2 separate regions of the Homo sapiens genome follow, and region 1 is linked to region 2. Evidence: promoter capture Hi-C in 16 types of primary human blood cells and fetal thymus (Javierre and others, 2016). All regions are on one chromosome and are shown on one strand. Each heading gives the region's core, a stretch centred on a gene start or on the middle of the fragment in contact. The rest is flanking DNA. Distances are from core to core; before and after follow the strand shown. Region 1 holds the start of TRR-TCT4-1 (tRNA-Arg (anticodon TCT) 4-1). Region 2 holds the start of DUSP23 (dual specificity phosphatase 23).

The links. Contacts are between HindIII fragments. The CHiCAGO score rates a contact against its expected background, and 5 or more counts as called.
Region 1: a contact is called between a fragment that was not itself captured here and the fragment with the promoter of DUSP23 in region 2, in 7 of 17 cell types (endothelial precursors, M2 macrophages, M0 macrophages and 4 more). The highest score is 23.4, in endothelial precursors.

The regions. Positions count from the first base shown.
Region 1 is chr1:159,138,550-159,142,944 of GRCh38, forward strand. TRR-TCT4-1 (tRNA-Arg (anticodon TCT) 4-1) reads right to left here and starts at 3,135; the gene lies at 3,062-3,135. It also overlaps a transcript of AIM2 not described here. The HindIII fragment of the contact is 2,688 bases long and covers 599-3,286 here.
Region 2 is chr1:159,778,198-159,782,399 of GRCh38, forward strand. DUSP23 (dual specificity phosphatase 23) reads left to right here and starts at 2,765. Exons shown (of 2, transcript NM_001319658.2): 1 at 2,765-3,170; 2 at 3,956-4,202. The coding sequence starts at 2,904. The coding sequence ends at 4,141. LOC101928264 (a long non-coding RNA gene) reads right to left here and starts at 1,184. Exons shown (of 3, transcript XR_922193.3): 1 at 1,029-1,184; 2 at 218-464. RefSeq lists a silencer at 2,700-3,089 and an enhancer at 3,081-3,657. The HindIII fragment of the contact is 4,062 bases long and covers 1,539-4,202 here.

The DNA of each region.
Region 1 (4,395 bases), core at 693-3,192, 640 kb before region 2:
GGAATATGTATTCCATGAAGAAGGTGGAATCTACTATTTTGGTGCCTGGAATAATGGGAAGTGGCATGAAGTGGGTGCTTGATGAATATTTGTTAAATAAGTGAATTAATGCCTGAAGATACTGTCTGTGCTCCTGCTCCCTGGAAGCTAGGAGTAATCTCTTTCTCTTTCCTATCTATATAATTTATAGTCAATTGAAGTCAGCATTAATTCTTTCAAATATATCCATCAAATGCCTACCATATTTCAGGCACTGAGAATACAATAATAAATAACACATATCCTGCCCGCATACTTTTCAATTAATGATCAGCTCCAGCATCTCTGAAGTATTTGAGTCCTACAGTGAAGTGACTTCATAAAAAACACACCCATTTCTATTTTACATTCTGAGTATCTTTAAAATACAGTAATTATGATATTCATAAATTAGGAGATATCCCTTATGTATTCAGAAGAAAATTGTTATCACACACAGAAGAATTTTTACTCATGTGGAAAATCTTTTCCCCAGTCCTGGTGATATCCTTCAAGTCTCCAAAACACCACCCCTCAGGATGAAGAGAGTTGAAGGCTAGGCAATAGTTAAATAAGCAGAAGCTTCTAGTTCCCTTGAGTGGGGTAGCCAGGAGGACCCTCTACCTACTTGGCTGAGATAAAGTCTCCTATCTAAGGCACAGAGGGACCACATGCTCTCTGAAGGATCCTGCCAGCTAGAAAACTCCAATCAGACCTCTTAGGGTAGCACAGGGTGGCATCTGCCCCTGCTGATGACACACAGCCACCCTGGATGTTCCAGGCAGGGGCTGAGCATTCAGACCCTTTCCTTTCCCTATTTTGTGTCCAGGTACCCTCCCCGTATGCTTAGGAGAAAGACAAAAGCAACTTGAAAACTAACATAGCCTCTATATTTGCACAGTGCTGTACAACAAACTTTTCATCCATTTTTTACACTTGTAGGAAAGACAATATACTCTTTTTTTTAATACATAAGCAAATTAAAGTGCAGATGTTCGGCAACTTGGCAAAGCTGCTTCTTATACCGAGGTCTTCTGATTCCAAGATAGGGAATAGAAATGACAAGACAAAATCAGGCTTGGGGAATTATCTGTGGATTTTAATTCTCACAGGTATAGAGCTTCACATAAAGAGCTGGCTCTATCAAATTCTGATCAAACATTTAAACAAATCCCAACACACTGTCTATTTGGGCACACATACCCGCCCTGTTTCCACCTCATCCCCAGCCCTCACAATTCCATGAAGTCTGATCATTATTTCCAGAAAGACTCTAGAAATGAGCAAACCATCGAGTGGGCCCTTGCCCCGAATTTTAACAGTGATATAGAAATAATATCCTTACCTTCTCGGAATTCTCATGGTTAAGCACCTCCATTACCATGCTATGATGGAGGGAGAATCAGGAAGATGTATGCAGTATTCTAGACTATGGTGGAAAAATGTGACATACCCCTTTCCTGAACTCCCTTCCCCTTCCCCTTCCCCCACCACTACCACACACTAATGTTTCCTTTCAGGCGAGGGCTTAAAGCAAAAATATCTAGGATAGGCTGAGTTAACAATAAACAAAAGGCTCCAGGAAAGAATGCCCAGGAACTTCTGGTCCACACCATGTCCTCCAAAGGGCATATCTATGGGACCAGTGGGAGAGAGATAACATCTGAATTGGCCTTCCACCAAGGTAACCCAGAAATGTAAAGCTATGTTAGCTCTTACTAGAAGAATTTTAAGTCTTTAAAGTACCATACTACTTCAAGAGAATTTCAAAAGTTTCCATTTGCTATAAACATGCACACATGGAAGCAGCAAACATCAATCTCCCTCCAGGGTCCTCCTATCTACACTGTCAATTCCCCTTACCTTTTGGCATGGCTGCTTTAAACTCCTCTGTGGACTTTCCCGCCTCCCCCACCTCAGCTTCCTTAGAGTGCAAGTGCACAGCTGTGTCCTCTGGTCGCCCGTCCAGAGTCCCGCATGGGAGAGATGCTGAGTCTCCCCAGCAGTCCTGGGACACGTATCTTCTCAGGTTTCCTGGGTTCACCTGAGGTGGAGGTCGGTTCCTGGCAGGGGCAGCTCCCTCTAGCTAATAAGCTAGAGGTAGCAATATGCAAGGGAGAGAGCCAGACCAGCCCAAAATAGAAATCCAAGCTACATCACACAATCTGACCAAGCTCCCAATCTGGCTAAATGTGGCCCATTAGACAAGACAAGGAGACAGCAAAAATGAACGCGGGAGGAGAGAGGTGGTGAGAACATGGCTTTTTGAAAATCAGGAATTATGGAAATAACATTCAGATACAACACTTGAAGTCTGTCCTACAAACAGAAAGGGGTACAAACTTTTCACAGTAAATAGCATTTAAGTATAAAACCTTCGAGTTTCTGGGGACAAGCTCATCCAGCTTGCTGCTGGTAATTAGTGTGTTGCTCTGTGGTTTATTCCACTGAGACAAAGAGCAATGATTACATTTCACCTGACAGATCAGAAAGTGAGTGATGAGCTTGAGCGCAAAAAGCCTCAGGAATGAAAAAGTGTAGCTGACAGACAGTGCAAGAAACTACCCTCTGCATGACCGTGTCAGGCAGAGACATCCTGACATCCACCAAATGATAACCCTGGTCAAGGAAGGTGTTACCTCAGAGGACAGTTGGACATTTTCTCATTGGCATATGGGACAATCTGCCTTTTTGTGGTCTCAGAGGTCAAAGGAGGGAATCAGAGTGGTTCCAAAACCTGTGACTTTCCGTCTTGGTCACTATGTGCCAATTATCTAACTGTGAAGTAAAGGATTCAAATGCTATGTCAGTCGGGCTGAACAGAGAGAAGCAGCAGACATCTGAGCCTCTACTAGACAATGAAAATCTGTAAGAGAGGAATACAGAAAGAATGAAGAGGGAGGGGACACAAAAAGAGAGAAGGTCCAGGATTCTCAAGGAAAAGGGTTTCCTTTCTCTCCCCTATAGCCTCCAGGGAGGAGTAAATATAATTATCAACCTAGCATGACAGTAGTCAAAATAAAAGAGGCACCTGCCAGGTGACCATCTCTGCCGGGACTCGAACCCGGAACCTCTGGATTAGAAGTCCAGCGCGCTCGTCCATTGCGCCACAGAGACCTCACCACACACACAGCATCAGCACCAGAACTGAAAAAGCACATACCTTCTGCATCACCGAGCCATCTCAGCATCCTGCTCTCTGAGCGGTGGGGGGGGACAGGGACAGCTGGAAAATCTGGAGTGGAGATCCACCAGCCGGCTTCATCAAAGCTTTTCTCAATACTCTGGGTCCGATGGTCCCCAGAGGATTGGGGGAATGTGACAGCAGTCAATTTCCCAGACTCAGAATCCCTGATGGAACAGGACAGAACTAGAGCCTTTGCTCTCCTTTCCTCTCCATCCCTTAGGGATGATACGAAAATCTCTCGATTCTCATGCTAATTAAGCAGAGTGCACCCAACCCTGCAGAAAACGCAGAAGCCATCTCTACCTCCACCCCCACTCCCTCACTGTGGTTTCATCCCAGTCCAGCTATTCTCAGACAGGGGCTGGGCAACGCTTGGGGATTCAGGAAAACCCTCGATCCCAGAGACAAAGGAGCTGCTTCCGTAAAGGAACACTGTGAACAACGGCAGCAGAGAATGGCAGCTGAGTTCTAAGAGACTGGTCTGGTTCTCAGCAATAAGAACTGTATCTGTCAAGCCCAGGCAAGAGGTACAGGGAGTCTGATGTGATGTTCCTTCAGCATCTTCACTAGAATTAAGCATGGGAGTGAAGAAAAAACAGTGTTCAGTGTGTGTGTTCAGTGTGTAAGTATGTGTGAACGTATATGTGTGAGAGAGTGTGTGTATGAGAGATAGAGGGAGGAAGAGTGGGTGTGTACACATAGGGTTGGAGGGTGAGAGTGGCAGATCTCTGATGAAGTAGATGTCCTCACACAGCCCTCCTGTATCTCTTTCCCCCACCTTGCTCAGCCCGGAATCCCTGACAGCCTTTTTCCCCAGGGCTACCTACTTTGAAGAACAAGGATTTCTCAGCTGTCTGTGCTTTTTACAACTATCCTAGTACAATCAAAGTGACCAACCCTCCATAACCATATATAAAGACCTCTATACCCAGCTCAGATCCAAGAAAATGATTTCTATTTTTAGAAGCCTCTCATAGAAGACAATTCCATAATCACCGTTGTTTATAATTTCCACTGAGCCCATTTTTCTGAATGTCTAATCCAAATCCTTCTTACCTCACTTTCAGCTCATTTTCTCCTATTTGGTTCCCAGACACATGGGAATAATTGGATTCTATGCTCCCGATGACAATGCATTGATTTAAAGACTGATTGTGTTCACCACCCCACTCCTCATCAAAAGGTTACAA
Region 2 (4,202 bases), core at 1,515-4,014:
TTTATTTGTCCCATTTCACAAAAATAGTAATTAGACATAGCCAAGATCATACTGACACAGCCATTCTTTATTTAAAAGCACAGTCAAGTAAAAAATACACTTCAAAGAGATACTACCCAATACTCAACACAGTCCTCAAACTTGTGCATTTAAAAAGAATTACAAATACACATTGCCACATGGTCCGACAGACTCACATTCACTCCTAGAAATGTACCTTCACGGTCTTGCCAATGCATTCTTCTTATTAATTTCCCATTCATTTGTTTACTTAACATTTTGAGCCCTGTGGCTCAGGCTCCATATTAGATGTGTGGAATTCAAAAACGGAACAACGCATTCTTGCCTCCTCTGCAAACAAGTATCCTCAATCCAATGACATTACTATACTGAGAAGACATATTTATACAAGGTGAGATGGGAGAAAAAAAAAAAGCCTAAATCTTCCTGAGGGTCAGGTAACTCTGTACAGAGGAGAGAATAAAAGAAGGTCAGTATCATGTATGTGGGCAGACAAGAAGGTGGTTAGTTGCAGAAGTCCTGTTAATTGCAGAAGTCTGAGCCAGGAAACCATCAGAGAGGGTTTTTCCTTACAGTTTGAGGCCCCTTGGGCCCAAGACAAAACATCATATGGCACCCTTGACATATGGCACCCTTGACAAAGCTTAAGGCAGGGACCCTGGGCCCTTTCCACTCTGGGTCTGCTGGAAGGGAAGGGCAGAGCTTCCTAAAAAGGGAGCCAACTGGCCTCTCCACATGGAGGCCCTAATGGTTTGATGGATGCACTGCTAGCCCTGCAGAAACCCACAAGAGGGAGAGAATCATTGGTAGGGGACTCAGGGAAGAGGAAGATCTCGGTCTCCCAAAAAAATTTTCTCTTTCTGGAGAATATGGGCTTCGAGCTGGATATCAAGGAGGCAAAGAAGGAGCACATAGGAGGGTAGGGAGTGAAGTGGAAACTTCCCTGGTGAGTAGGGGAAGCAAAGAAAGGAGAACAAGGCAAAGGGACTAAGAAAAGATTAACTTACAAGAACAAATGCTAGAGTCTTGTCTCCAGAGGTAGTGCAACCAGAAATCCTGAAGAGCAGTTGAATTGAGAAGAGAAGTGGGAGGTCAGGGGGTTGGGGGAAGAGGTGACTGGTGGCTGAGAGGCCATGGCTGGGAAAGAGAGAAAGGAATAAACTGGGGAGGGCTGGTAACCTTGATAGGAATTTATGTAGGAAATGAGAGTGCAAACAGGAAGGGCTTAATGAGGGCTGTGATTGTCTGGAAGGAGAAAAAGGGGAGATTTGGCACCTCCTGGAACCTGGGGAAAGTAATTGTCTGGGTAAATGGTAAGTGTATTTCCCACAGGGTCAGAGCAGGCTTTGATCTTTAGGAGAAGACAAATTGCTTTCCATCTTGCTGAAGCCAAAGGCTTAAATGGTCAGACGTGTGTCATAGGTGGGTGCAAAGGGAAGGAAATATAATACATCCTCATGGCCAAGTGCCCTGGGCTTGGATCACTGTGTCCTTGGCCAAGTTAACCAACTTCTTTAAGCTTCCAATGATTCATGTACAAAAAAAGATACAAAAATACCTTTCACATGTGGTTCTTCCAGAAAGCGCTTGGCACAGGGCCTGGTACATAAACAAATTCAATAAGGGTTAACTATTTTCATAATTACAGTTAGTCTGCATCGCTAGAAGCACATTATTCAAATGAGGATATGGACTGGTCAGATGACAGTGGAAACGGTGTTCAGATCTAGGGGCCCCCACCTAGTAAGAACAACACTAATCAACTCTAGCCTGCCCAGGGGACAGTGACCCAGAGAACTAGGAAACCTTGAAAAATGAAGAAATATGAAATACTAATAAAAATTAAGAAAACCCACAAGCGTTTAACCCAGATAATATTTGGGGACATGAGGGGGTTATGTGAAGAGAAAACAATGTTCCATTTAACTTTAGGAAATGGCGATATTATTAAAGATTTTGGAGGCATTAGTCATCATCCTTTGGTCAAGTTTATTAACCTCTCCAGTGCCTCTGTTTTTTCATCCATAAAATGGGATTCACTAGATCACCTATCTTATAAGATTACTGTGGCAATTAAATGAGTCAGTATGTGCTAAGTGCTTAGAAGACTATCTAGCACATAATAAATGCTCAATAAGTCCTGAGGAGCAACTGGATTGACAGGAGAAGTTGGTGCTGGTTATTATTATTACTATAATTATTACCCTGGGTAAGTTTTTAATAGTTCCAGCAATGAAAAAATGAGAATAGCCTCCTTGCAGCAGTAATTCCCTCTTACTGGAACAGTTCAAAAAGTCGCTGATAACGACCAGTCAATCATTAGAGAGGAGACTCCTCGTCCTGGGAGAAAGCCGATTTGTCATCTCTTAAACCCCAGGGCATCCAGCGTGAAGGAGGTAGAACTAGGCCGGCCCGCGAGGAGGCAGGGGCAGGCGCCAGTGACGCAATGACTGCAACATGCCGCCAGGGTGCAGCAGAGCCCGACCCCGGGTTGTTCCATCCGCAGCAAACAATTCCTAACTCGCTCCAGGTCTTCCTTCTTAGCTGAGTGGGTTGAACCCCGTGGAAGTAACCCCCCGCCCATTATGATGATCCAGCCAATCACCGCGTGATCTGCTCGGACGGGGCGGGATCGCGGCGCTTCCCTCGGTCGCTCAGAGACTGGGTTCCGCGTTCCAGCCCCGCCCCAGGTTCTGGGCCAATCCCCGCGGCTGGGCAGAGCGACCCGAGGGCGGCGCCCTGCAGACCACGTGGCCCGGGAGGCGCCGAGGCCAGGTAGGTGGTGAGTTACTTGGCTCGGAGCGGGCGAGGGGACGCGTGGGCGGAGCGGGGCTGGCCAGCCTCGGCCCCCATGACCCGCTGTCCTGTGCCCTTTCCCAGCGATGGGCGTGCAGCCCCCCAACTTCTCCTGGGTGCTTCCGGGCCGGCTGGCGGGACTGGCGCTGCCGCGGCTCCCCGCCCACTACCAGTTCCTGTTGGACCTGGGCGTGCGGCACCTGGTGTCCCTGACGGAGCGCGGGCCCCCTCACAGCGACAGCTGCCCCGGCCTCACCCTGCACCGCCTGCGCATCCCCGACTTCTGCCCGCCGGCCCCCGACCAGATCGACCGCTTCGTGCAGATCGTGGACGAGGCCAACGCACGGGGAGAGGTCAGCGGGCGGGGTCAGCGCAGGGAGGGAGGGGCCTGGAAGGTCAGCGGGGGACACGGGCGGAGCTGGGGAGACCGGGCCTGGGATAACTTAACTGGGCTCGGGGAGGCAGACAGTAGGGCCGGGAGACTGGGAAGCCAGTGCGGGGGAGGGAAGCGCTAAACGGAAGGAACTAAAGAGAGGGCGAAGCAGTGCGAACTGGGCTTGAGGAGAGGCAGTGAAAACCAGCTAATACTGTGAGTTGTGAAGGAGAAGGGTGTGGACAGACACCTGGGAGAGGTGGGGGTTGAAGTCAGGTGGAGGCTGTTTACCATTTTCTAGAGTAAAGCTGTCCAAATATAATGGAACCTAAGTGGCTCCATGTAATGTTAATTTTTCTAGCAACGGCATTCTTAAAAAGCAGGGAAGCAGATAAAATTAACTTTGGTGATCTTAATGAGATATTTTCATTCTTTTTTCTACTACCTCTTCATACCCTGTTGCGTTTTTCACACTACATCTCAGTTTGGACTAGCCACATTTCGAGTACAGTAGCCACAGTAGCCGTGGCTACTGTCTTCTGTATTGAACACCACAGGTGGAGGGCTGTGTAGAGGTGGACAGCTCTTGAACCAGCCAGTGCAGAGGCCTCCTAGCCACCTAGTGCAGGGACAGCCCTCCCTGACTTTGCTGCAGAGCCCTGGACCTGGCACAGAAGAAGGAGCTGTGGGGAGAACCAAGTGAGGGGCAGGAAACAGTTGTGGGTGGGGGAGTTGAGTGGCACCCATCGAGCCCCCTCTTCGTAGGCTGTGGGAGTGCACTGTGCTCTGGGCTTTGGCCGCACTGGCACCATGCTGGCCTGTTACCTGGTGAAGGAGCGGGGCTTGGCTGCAGGAGATGCCATTGCTGAAATCCGACGACTACGACCCGGCTCCATCGAGACCTATGAGCAGGAGAAAGCAGTCTTCCAGTTCTACCAGCGAACGAAATAAGGGGCCTTAGTACCCTTCTACCAGGCCCTCACTCCCCTTCCCCATGTTGTCGATGGGGCCA